Regions from separate parts of the Homo sapiens genome. Here region 2 is linked to region 1. The links are contacts of gene promoters, found by promoter capture Hi-C in blood cells and fetal thymus (Javierre and others, 2016). All regions are on one chromosome and are shown on one strand. The core of a region is centred on a gene start or on the middle of the fragment in contact, and the rest is flanking DNA. Distances in the headings are between cores, read along the strand shown.

Region 1 (5,822 bases), core at 1,094-3,593:
CACAATGGGGAAGCAGAGAAATCAGTTAGGAAGATAAATTTCAGACAAAATAATGATGACTTGGACCTGGGTGCGTAGGGTAAGAAATATCTTTTCCTTCTACCCATTTTAGGCTCACTGGCTGGGGATCCTGTAACAAAAGACAAATTAACAAGAGAAAAGCATAAATATTAATGTTAGTTTTACATAACATGGAAACTTCATAAAGAAATGAAGACCCGAATAAATAGTTAACCTTAGTGTTGTTTAGAGTAGGTTTGAAGAAGAATGGAGAATTGTGGGAAAATGTGATGGGGCTAAAAGACTGTGATCTAAGGGTAATAAACTGGGGGAAACTTAGCAAGGCCTGATGTTCATATTCGTCTCTACGTCCCTGTGTTTTCAGAGATAAAGATGTTACTTTTATTCCAGGTATAGACAGGGCAATTCTCACATGAGGGTATTACGTCCTGCTTCAGAGCAGAAAGGTGCAAGAAAGTTAGAGACATTCCTGCATATGTTCTTTCTCAAATTCCTTCAGTTCAAAGTATTCAATATGTCTAGGTGCCATATTTTTGGGTAGCATGTCCCAAACCCCGTCAGGTGGTAGAAGCAGAGGTTGTGAGAACTCGTTAAATTCGCTACATATTTTGAAGATTAAGCCAGTAAGGCTTGTTATATAAGATGTAAGGCCTGAGATAGAAGACTCAGGTATGAGTCCTTAGCCTGAGCAATTAAGAGAACGAGGTAACTGTTCACTGCATTAGGTCCATGGGATATTTGTTTTTATTTAATTATGTACTTAATAATTCCAGGCTATTGGTTGGACACTTAAAAAAATTTATACGATAAAATACACAGCTCTTAGGAGTTCATCCCATGAACTTTGACAATTCTATGTATCGGTGTAATATTTCCATTACCTGGGCAAATTCCCCTTCGCCGGGCCTTAAGCATAATCTACAGAAAAAACTACGTACATAAATATACGTTTACAACTCAATGAGATTTCTAAAGTGAACCCACCTATCTATAATCAGTGTCCAAATCAAGAAACATTACCTGAACCTCAAAAGCCCCCTGGTGGCTCTTTCATGTCATTGTCCTCCCCACTATGCTCATTAACACCATGGGCTAGTTTTTAAATGGAACCACGCAATATGAACTCTTCCATGTCTGGCTTCTTTCCCTCAACTTCATTTTTTTGTGTGAAATTCACGCATGTTGCGTTTCGGTAATTTATTTTTGTACTGTACTTCCGATTCTTTACTACAGATAATGGTCAGCCTCCATTCCGCTAACAGCTTTTTTTCCTCTCCGAGTTGCTGATTCTAATTGCTGCCTTGGACGATCTATAAAGCTGAGTGCGCGCTATGTGACCTCTCAGGGGTCGCTGCCTTGGACGATCTGTAAAGCTGAGTGCGCGCTATGTGACCTCTCAGGGGTTGTTTCCAACCGTGTTGTTGACATCTTGAGCCTGCCAAGGACTAGAATAATCTGAAAACTAGGCTTCTCTGGGGGTCTCACTGAGTGACAGGGTTAGAACCAGAAGAGAACATCGTCTCCAGAAGACATTTCACCATTTTCTTTGATGGTAAACAGGCTCACTTATACCGAATCCAAACCCAGGCGAGAACTACGGACTCTTGAAATGGTCGGTGAAAGGGGCGAAAGCACCAGGAAATCGTGCTTCAACAGTCCATGACTGAAAGGAGGGCCTGAAACTGTGGCCATAGGCGGGCCCTTTTGTTAGGGCCTTGACCTGGGCTTCCGCTACAGGGCCCGGTCACGAGGCCAACGTAGCTCCACCTCCTACGGCGGCCAGTGATGACGCCACCACGTCGGAACTGTTAGACCGCGGTGACGTCTCCACCGCGCCAAACTCACTGAAAATCAAACCGCTACCATTAGGAGCCCTCCACGCTTAACATATCCGTTCTTTCTCGTTTGAAAGTAACCAGGCTGCTCCTCCCCATTTTTCGCCTTCTTCTCGCGGAGGCTGAGAGACTAACCTTACACAACATGGCGGCCTGGTGTGTCTGGTGTCCTAGAGCGGACGAAAGCAGGTGACTCTCTAGTCAACTTCCGACTTGGACTCCGAAGATCGGTACGTTATTTCCGGGGCTGGGTTAACGCAGCGGTTCCGAGCTGCGACTGCGCAGCGTGGCCCAGCGCGGTCAAATTATAATACATAAAAGTTGTCAGGGCGGAGAGCAAGACATTACTCTTCTCGGATTGCCGGTTCGCTCGCGAGACTTGAGCGTTGCTAGGAGATTCGGCAGGCGGGCGGAGCCAGACTCGGCGGGGCGGGGAGGGGTGGGGCTAGGCTCGGCGAGGCGAGGAAGGGTGGGTGGAGCCAGGCTTGGCGGGCTGTGCGTGCTCGCGGTGGGCGGTGGCGGCGGCTGCCTCGCGAAGGTTCGAGATCCGTCGCGTGCGGGAGGCGGGCCGCGATCTTGCGCAGGGTCGGTGTGGGCGCAGGCTGCAGCGCCGCGACTCGTGCGGGTAGGCGTCTGCGCTCGGTTTGAGGGCTCGGCGCGGGGTTTCCTGTTCCTCCTTCTGCGCGGCTGCAGCTCGGGACTTCGGCCTGACCCAGCCCCCATGGCTTCAGAAGAGGTAAGTGGTCCGGCCCCATATTCCTTATGCCCCCCGGCTGGAGCTGCAGCGCCAGCCTCCCGCCCTACCGCCGTTTCCGTGGGCTGAGCCGCCCTGCGGCCACCCGGTCCCGCGCCAGTCAGTGCGCCGCCTTCCCGGGGGACACCTCACTCGCCCCTTGCTGCGCCGTCGGCTCCCCAGCGCTTCCACTCGACCTCGCACCCCACTCGCCTGCTGGGCTCGAGCGGGGGTGTGCGGCGATTATCCGTGCAGGCGGTGCGGGGAGTGGGTCTGGGAGAGCGGCCCTTTGCGCGTGTTCCTCAGGCCCTTTCTGCCCTGGTTTCCCAGCCAGTGGACAGGAAGCTTCATTCAAGCAAAGCTGGGTGCAAACATGAGTGTCGTTCTTGGTAGAGGGCGGTTGGAAGGTGAGTTCTCAGTGCTAGCACTTGAATTCTCCTAGTCAGGTTTTCTCTACACACGAGGAGCTGTGTTACTCTGGGCAAGTTGTTTAGCTTCTCTGTGTCGCAGTAGCATCCATTTCATAGGGTTGTTAAAAAATATGATTTCTAGGTGTTTAAGTCAGTGATTGGCAAACAGCAATCTGCTGTATGTGATTTTTAAAATAAATAACTTGGAAAGTTAGTTGTAATTAATAGTAAGAAAGCGAATGGCCTGTGTTAAAGCTCTGTAAACTCTGAACGTTGGAGAATTAAATTTTGTGGAGACTTAGTTTGCTCAGTTAGAAAATGGGAATGATAGTACTTGTATTGCTCATTTCCTGGCGTAAGTGGGAGGTGAAGACGGGACAGTTATTCACAGTTAAGTGTTGGGTGTGTATTAACTAGATTTGCTTTATGAAAACAAGTACTGGGGAGTCCCAAGCTTTTGTTTTGTTTTGTTTTTGTTTTTTAAACTCAAAATCTTTTCTTTAAATGAAGAAAAACTATGAGGTTTGTGTGTTCCAGTATTAATCTGGGTATCTTGTGACAAGTCTTTTAAGGTAGGTCTTGGGTACTATGTGCCCCTAGGAGATAACTTCACAGTCTTGCAGGTGGATAGCTCAGTGTTAGTCCTCTTGAAAGTAGAGATCGTTCTCAGTTTAGGCACTTAGAAATATACATTTGAGGGCACTTGATTTTTGTTTTGTTTGAGATAAAATTCAAGTTTTTAACCATTTTAAAGTGTACAATTCAGGTATTTGTTTTTTGTTTAAATATATTCACAGTGTAGTGCAGCCATCACCACTGTCTAGTTTCAGGACATTTTCATCACTCCAGAAAGAAACCATGTAGTGTGTTTTAAACAATTGCTTCCCATTCCTCCCTCAGCCCCTGACAACTACTCATCTTGTACTTTCTGTGAATTTGCCTATTGTAGGCATTTCATATAAATGGAGTCACGCTGTATGTGGCCTTTTGTTTTTTGGCTCCTTCAACTTAGCACTAACATTTTCAAGTTCATCCATGGTGTAGCGTGTATCAGTACACATGCTCTTTATGGCTAAATAATATTCTATTATATGCATGTGGCACATTGTGTTTATCCTTTCATCCGTTTATGGACATTTATTTCCACTTCTTTGTTTGAGACGGAGTCTCGCTCTGTCGCCCAGGCTGGAGTGCAATGGCGCAATCTCGGCTCACTGCAATCTCCGTCTCCCGGGTTCAAAGGATTCTCCTGCCTTAGCCTCCTGAGAAGCTGGGATTACAGGCGCGCGCCACCATGCCCGGCTAATTTTTGTATTTTTAGTAGCGACGGGGTTTCACCACGTTGGCCAGGCTGGTCTCGAACTCCTGATCTCAAGTGATCCGCCCGCCCGCCTCGGCCTCTGAAAGTGCTGGGATTACAGGTGTGAGCCATGGCGCCTGGCCTTATTTCCACTTCGTGACTAGCATAAATAATGCTGCTGCGAGTACTGTATCCAAGTTTTTTGTGTGGATGTGTTTTCAGTTCTCTGGGGTATATACCTAGGAGTGGAATTACTGGTTCATATGGTAACTTTCTGAGAAACTGTTAGACTGTTTCCAGAGTGGTTGCATCATATTCCTGTAAGAAATGTTTGAAGCTTCTGAAAGTTTCTCCACATCATTATCAACATTTGTTATTTTCTGGGGTGTTTTATTTTTCTTTTTCGGTTTATGATACCATCCTACTGGGTGTGAAGTGGCATCTTGGGAATTTGATATGCGTTTACCCAATGATGAAGATGTTGAGCATCTTTAATGTTCTTGGTGTCCATTTCTGTGTCTTTGGAGAAATGTGTGTTGAATTCCTTTGCCCATTTTTGAGGCACATTGGTGTTAATGCCTCCTAGTGAAAAATTAGGAAATAGGAAGATAAAGCTTGAATGCCTTATGGGTAGGGATAAAAGAGAAATAAAATTTTTATATACGTAAAACAAACACATGCCAAGAAGGCAAGGAAAATTACATGATAAATTAGATAGGAAACTAGGACATCTTAAAGTATTTGTGCAGAAAAAGCATCAAAGGAATCACCTTTGTTGGTTTCAAGTCTGCCAATAACAGAACTGAGGAACTGTCTCAGTTTTAAGTTTTTTCAGTGGATACTTCATAATAAAAAGAGTACTTTAGAGTCAAAACTGGCAATAAAGAGGGCTTGGGAATTCAGCCATTGGGGGAATCCCTTGCCTAATTCGAAGTACCTTTCTCATTCTGCTAGATAAAGTATTCCTATTTCAGTCAAAAAGCAAAACCTCTTGCTTAGACTTAATATATTTCATTTTACATTTCAATATTTTTATTATGAATTAGGAGTTGTAGAATCAGCGTTTTTTTGAAACCATTACAATAAAAATATTACTTTGAACTGAAACATTTTGGTTCTATGCTCAAAAGATGAGTTTGCAAGATTTTTTGTCATAGTAATATGAGCTGTTCTTGGAAGGGTCGAGAGTGTGGACAAGAGGGTTGGGCAGAGTTGATTTTTTTTTTTTTTTGGGAGACCGAGTTTTGCTCTTGTTGCCCGGGCTGGAGTGCAATGGCGCGATCTCGGGTCACTGCAACCTTTGCCTCCCGGGTTCAAGCGATTCTTCTGCCTCAGCTTCCCGAGTAGCTGGGATTACAGGCACGTGCCACCACACCCGGCAAATTTTTGAATTTTAAGTAGAGACGGGCTTTCGCCGTGTTGGTCATGTTGGTCTCGAACCCCTAACCTCAAGTGATCCACCCGCTTTGGCCTCCCAAAGTACTGGGATTACAGGTGTGAGCCACTGCACCTGGCCAGAGTTG
Region 2 (5,822 bases), core at 1,823-4,322, 3.3 Mb before region 1:
AAGTACTGGTGTGATATCGTGATTTACAAAATATACTCATTTGGTCTTAATCCCCATTTCCTGACATATCCTTGGAATCGCTGCAGTGATGTGTCTTGTGTATGCTAATAAGATGACTGGTAGCTTAGCCCCCAGATAGATTCCAGATGGAGGCTGGTCACAGAAAAACCTAGGCATGATTAGAAGACTGGGACTTTACAGCCCCACCCCCTAGCTTCCTGGAAGGGGAGGAGGGCTCAAGGTTGAACTGATTTCTAATAGCCAATGATGTAATCAATCATGCCTACTAAGGAAGACTCCATAAAACCCAAAAAGGACAGGGTTCAGAGAGCTTCCCAAAAGCTGAACAAGTAGAGAGTTCCTGGACGGTGGCACACCTGGAGAGGGCACAGAAGCTCTGTACCCCTTGCCCTATGCACCTCTTCCATCTGGCTGTTGATCTCTATCCTTTATAATAAACCAGTAAACAAAGTGTTTCTCTTAATTCTGTAAGCCACTCTAGCAAATAAACTGAACACAAGGAAGGGATTGTGGGAACTCTGATTTATAGCCAGTCAGTTGGAAACACAGGTAAAACAACCTGGAACTTGTGATTGGCACCTGAAGTGGGGGGAATCTTGTAGGATTAAGCCCTCAACCTGCAGGATCTGATGCTATCTCTAGGTATACAGTATCAGAATTGAATTAGAGGACACCCAGCTGGAGAATCTGCTGCAGAATTTCCTCCTTGCTTGTGAGGAGAAATCTTTTGGGGGTCTGTGTTGAGAGAGAATAGGAGAAACTCAATTTTTTTCTATCAAAACAACTGGATTAAACAAAGCTAGTTTTCTTTGCTACAGAATGACTCACATCCTGTTATATGCTAATATGCATTGTGACTTTCCAGGAAAATGCTTGTGTATGCAACATACTAAAATTTTTTTTTGCGAAAAAGTTCTTCTATGCAAATAATGAATTTTCAGTATTTTTGACTAGATGGTAGATGAATACCCATCAATTCAGGATAGCTCAGAAATACTGAATGTTTTACTATGTGCTAGGCACGGTGCTCAGTGATACACATGCATTTTCTTTTACTCTTTATGATGCTTCTTTAAAGTAGGCACCAAGAAACTAGGAGAAAACTAAAGTTTAGTAACGATAACGTTAGTCACTACATTCATTGAAACAGCAGAGATACAGGCCTAAATTAATCAATGGCTGTGCATTATCAGTTTTAATCATTTGTTCAATTAGTTGCCCATCAGGTTTACAGAATTCTGTTCTAGAAAGACTCACTTCCTGCTAACAACCCAATAGTCCTGCTTCCTTTTCCATAAGAAGAAACACTTAGACCTTTAAATTAGGTATAGTTAGACATCAGTTTGTTTGTTAATGATATACACTTAAAAAAGAATAATCCCAGGATCTGGCTTCACGAACCAAATAAAAGTAATGTTTTAAGTCAGCTGCTTGTCAAAACCAAAGGACACACTTTTCTTTGATAAGAAATGCTTCCAAATCAGAAATTATTCACTTGTAACAAAAACCAAATTCTTGCTGCCTGAGTAACAGCTCTTGAGTTCTTGGTTCCACAATATTTCTGTCACATACATCTGGCCCTTTTATTCCTCATACTTTGATGTCAGAATACTTCATTCATGCAGAAATGTAACAGAATGCATGGAAAAACAGATGACAAGGCAAATTACTGAAGAACTTGTGCTTTTAACTATTATCTGTATTTAGATTTTAACCCCTGCAATGAGGCTGCCTCAACATCCCAAAGCAAACAACGGGCAGACTTATATAATGCCTTTATAAGACATACAGTAAAACTACAATCTTAAGGATGAGCAAACACCATATTCAGGTCTCTTAATCCCAAGAAACCATGTGCAACAAATAGCCCATCAGCAAAGCAGTAGGCAGATTAATTAGCTACCTTGATGAACTTTGATGTTATTTGCAACTGATTATTAGTAACTGATATGTGTATCAAACAACTAGTAGAAATAAATCATGCTCAGAAAGTAGACTAGGATATAGTCTGCCTAAGATTTCTCCTACAAAAAAAGACATGTGAATTCAGCTGTTTGTGACTAGGTATACATGTAAATAAGAGAGCCATCATGTACTTCCACATTGAGGATAGACCACCACTATACAATTCACTCAAATGAGTCACATCACCGTATGCTTCTTATACATCAGCATATACTTAAATGTCTATGTGTGCGTTTTTGTAAGTAGTACGTTATCTAGTCAATAGCTTTGAATCTGGGCAAAGGCTCTCCTTTTCCCAGCCTCCATTCTCTTTCTGATTCGTCTTCCTTGTCTGTCATCAGCCTTCTTGCTTGATGCAGTTTCACAGAAATAAAGTGACTTGGATGGACACAGACCGGAGATATTATTTGCAAAACCTGTCAAGTGTAACGATTCACCCCCACCTTCCGGTCATTATAAACACAGCAGGGTTGGCGCTCTTTCCCCCGGGCCCTTTAAATACACAATTTCAGGCAGCTCCGTTCACCCCCCACACCCAATCTGTCACACCAGGCCACGTCCCACGATATATCTGCTCCTAACGCTGGCCCTTCCTGCCCCATTGTACCCCCTGGAATTCCTCACTACATCCCACTCTTAACAAACCTTCCCCATCCATGGTACTGTTCTCTTCCCATCACCCCAGAGTACCCCTCAATTCCAATTCTTCTCTCCCTCAACTGCTCCTCGTCCGCATACCCCTGTCCTCGTCTTCCTTCCTCACGGCACCCCCGGCCCCAACCTTTTCCCACTCCGGGGTCCCTTCCTAGATCCCCGAGGCCCGCCGACCAGCCCGACTAGGACGTCGGGGGGCGGCAAGGCAGGGGCGTCTTCTTCGTTTCCTTCCTCCTCACACCAGCCCCTCCCGCTGCGAACAGGCCAGCGCCAGTACCTGAGGCTCCCGGGGAACTCCCGGCAGCTCTCCCGGGCTGGCGGTGCTGGGCGGGCGGGGGAAGGAGTAGGAAGCCGAGGTAAGAAGCTGGGAGGGGGAGACAGTTGGTGCGGACCCGGCGTCGGCCGCAGCGCCGCAGCAGCGCCTCCGCTCATCGAGCCGATCGGCGCTCGGCGGCCTGGCGCCAGGCGGAGGGGGCGGGTCCAGGGCACGGAGATAATCGAGGAAGTCGATCCGCCGAGCCCTATTCACCTAAAAGAGCCCGAACCCACACGCAGTTTAGATGCATCTCTCCAAATTTATGCTGTGCTTTAGGGGAGGAACAACCACTGGTTGTCCACGTTCCGGTCGTGATCCGGCGTGCGTGGAGGGCGATTAGGGGAGGAGTGGGAAACTTCCGAGAACCGCTCGGGACTGGGCGCCGCGCCGGAGTGCGTGGCTGGGGTGATGAGGCGTTAGAAAGAAGGTGGTGCTTGGTGGCACATCCGTCCCTCTGGCTGACTACGTTGAGTGGCAAGTGGAGAGTGGCTCGCAGCTCGAGGACCTGCTTCGGGTTCGTCTGGGGCCTTTTCTGAAGAAAGGAGATCTGTTTGATCCCCTGTTTACAGAATTAGAGCTAGACTTGGAAAGAGATGTTAAGGCCAGGCTCCTCCCTTTAGATAGGAGGAATATCTGGTTCAGAGAGGAGATTGACTTAAAGTTAACACGGCTAGTTTAGATAGATACGGGACGAGGGCTCGGTGTTCTTTTCCCGGTATCCCTTAGTTGTAACCTGAAAGCCTTCAGGAAATCGCCCTCGCCAGGCCATTCCGCCACTCTGCCCATTCCTTCCTCACTCCCTCCCCCTCCGCCCAATTTGGTATCATGTTTAGATCTCCACGCCCGCAGTAGCTGTCTACCAGAAACAATTCCTAATTTTGTTTTTCCGTTCTCTTATTTGTTTTATTATCCGTTCCTCCCACGCCCCAGCTGGATTATTTTACTCATTGAATCATATTCACTACACATCTTTTAAAATTAATACAGTATCTATGGGTCCTTTGTTGATACAGTATTTTAACTGTCTGAAATACTGTGCCAGGCACTTTCTAAAGACATAAAAATAAGAGGGGGTGTTCAAGAACAAGAGTAGACAAGAAAACAGCAGGAGGAAAGATCTGCGGACACTAAAGGAAAGGAAAGAATAGACACCCTCTTACCAAAAAGTTGTTCTTCTTTTGTTTGATGTTTATTTTTATGTAAAAATGTACTAACGAATTTGAAAGATGCCATGACTAAGGCAACGATGCTCCACTCTGATTCACTTGGAGTTGAATCACTTGGAAAGCTTTTAAAACTACGTAGGTGCCCACGTGCTACCTAGATTCTGATTTAAATGTTCTGAGATTTAGAAACAGCCGTTGAGTTGTCAGTTGAAGGTTCTGAAAGCTTAATGCTAAACTCAGTTGCCTGTGTTTATTCAGTCCAAGTTGCTGTCCAAGTCAGCAACTTGGACTGAAACGGCCCACTTAGAAGAGAAGCCTCTCATGGTTTGTATCCCTGTCTAGGTGTGATAGTGGGTCTACCCCCAGACTCCACAGGTAACCCTGACATTATTTTTTCTTCTACAGCTGATCTTTTTTTTTTTTTTGAGATGAAGTCTCACTTCTTCCCCCAGGCTGGAGTGCAGTGACACAATCATAGCGCACAGCAGCTCTGAACTCCTGAGCTAAAGTGATCTTCCTGCCTCTGCCTCCCAAGTAGCTGGGATTACAGGCATGAGCAGCTGTGCCCAGCACTTACAGTTGATTTTATGTCTGTATATTTGCATGTTATGGGCTATTTTCTGGCTTTGGTGCCTTAGCCAATTAGAGTTTAGCTAGTTATAGCCTCATCTCTTAGACAACTTAAGGTGTGGTCAGTGAGCTCTAACAGGCACGTCATTGCATAGCTTTTACAGATAATCCATTCTTTGGGTTTTTTTGTTTTTTAAACATAATTCTTTAGTCCTGCCAGTCATTTTGGAATGATCGCTTAGGAGAGGGGTAATGCAAGCCCCACCCTTAATCACCTGAACAAAGTCCCTTTGACTAACCCCAATATTTGTGAAACTTAGAAAATGTCATTTTACAGTTAACATGAATCAAATATACCAGTAAGCCTAAAAGATTATAATAGCACTGAGCTTAGAGTCAGAACTCCAAGCAACTTGAGTTACTTATTTCCTCCATTTTCTTTTTAGTGAGCTTCAGTTATTCAGATGTTAGTCCTCTAATTTTCTTTTCCCCTTTTTCAACATGACACCTTCATCCTTAAGAGGGCCTGCTGTCCTCCTAGCTAGAGAATCAGCGTTTTGCTGTCTTTCAGGACTAAATCTCTGGGTTTTTGATGGGATAGCAAAGGGAATCTCAGCATCTGATTCATTCTTAAACAGACTTTATACCATTCCGCCTGTATTTATAGCTCACATCATGCTCTCTTCAGCTTTACGTGGTGTTTCCAATTCCTGAGCCTTATACAGGGTTTCACTGTGTGTATCAGGTTGCTTCATGGCCTGCTTGGGATTCCTACTTTTCAAGTCTGCTAAGGCAATTGCATCTTGATTCATCTCCCTTCTAGCTTTCAATATTTTGTTGCTAAATGTTCAACATTACTTAAAATGTAAAAGTGAACAAGGAAATACCATTTTTCATCTATCAGTGACTGAGAAAGAAGGAGTTGAGCAGAAGATCTGCAATCCAGTCTCTCCCTTCGTAGGGAAATACTCTCAGGAAAGCAAGGTTAAAGCAAGCAAAAAAGCATGTGATTTTTATAAAATATAAAGTATATACTAATTACAGACCTCCTGGCAAACAAACTAATGGCATTTGCTAGCAAGAGAGTCCATATTTACGGAATTCCTCTAACAGGATGTCCCAGGGCTGGG

The links. Contacts are between HindIII fragments. The CHiCAGO score rates a contact against its expected background, and 5 or more counts as called.
Region 2: the fragment with the promoter of VAMP4 here is called in contact with the fragment with the promoter of CACYBP in region 1 in 2 of 17 cell types (activated CD4 T cells and total B cells); the score reaches 5.1 in activated CD4 T cells.

Annotation. Positions count from the first base shown.
Region 1 is chr1:174,997,604-175,003,425 of GRCh38, forward strand. CACYBP (calcyclin binding protein) reads left to right here and starts at 2,344. Exons shown (of 6, transcript NM_014412.3): 1 at 2,344-2,592. The coding sequence starts at 2,578. It overlaps LOC105371622 (a long non-coding RNA gene), which reads right to left and starts at 2,043. Exons shown (of 2, transcript NR_188647.1): 1 at 1,992-2,043; 2 at 1-130. RefSeq lists enhancers at 1,465-1,674, 1,617-2,153, 1,705-2,214 and a silencer at 2,245-2,364. The HindIII fragment of the contact is 3,791 bases long and covers 1-2,932 here.
Region 2 is chr1:171,738,993-171,744,814 of GRCh38, forward strand. VAMP4 (vesicle associated membrane protein 4) reads right to left here and starts at 3,073. Exons shown (of 8, transcript NM_003762.5): 1 at 2,918-3,073. The HindIII fragment of the contact is 4,907 bases long and covers 1-4,242 here.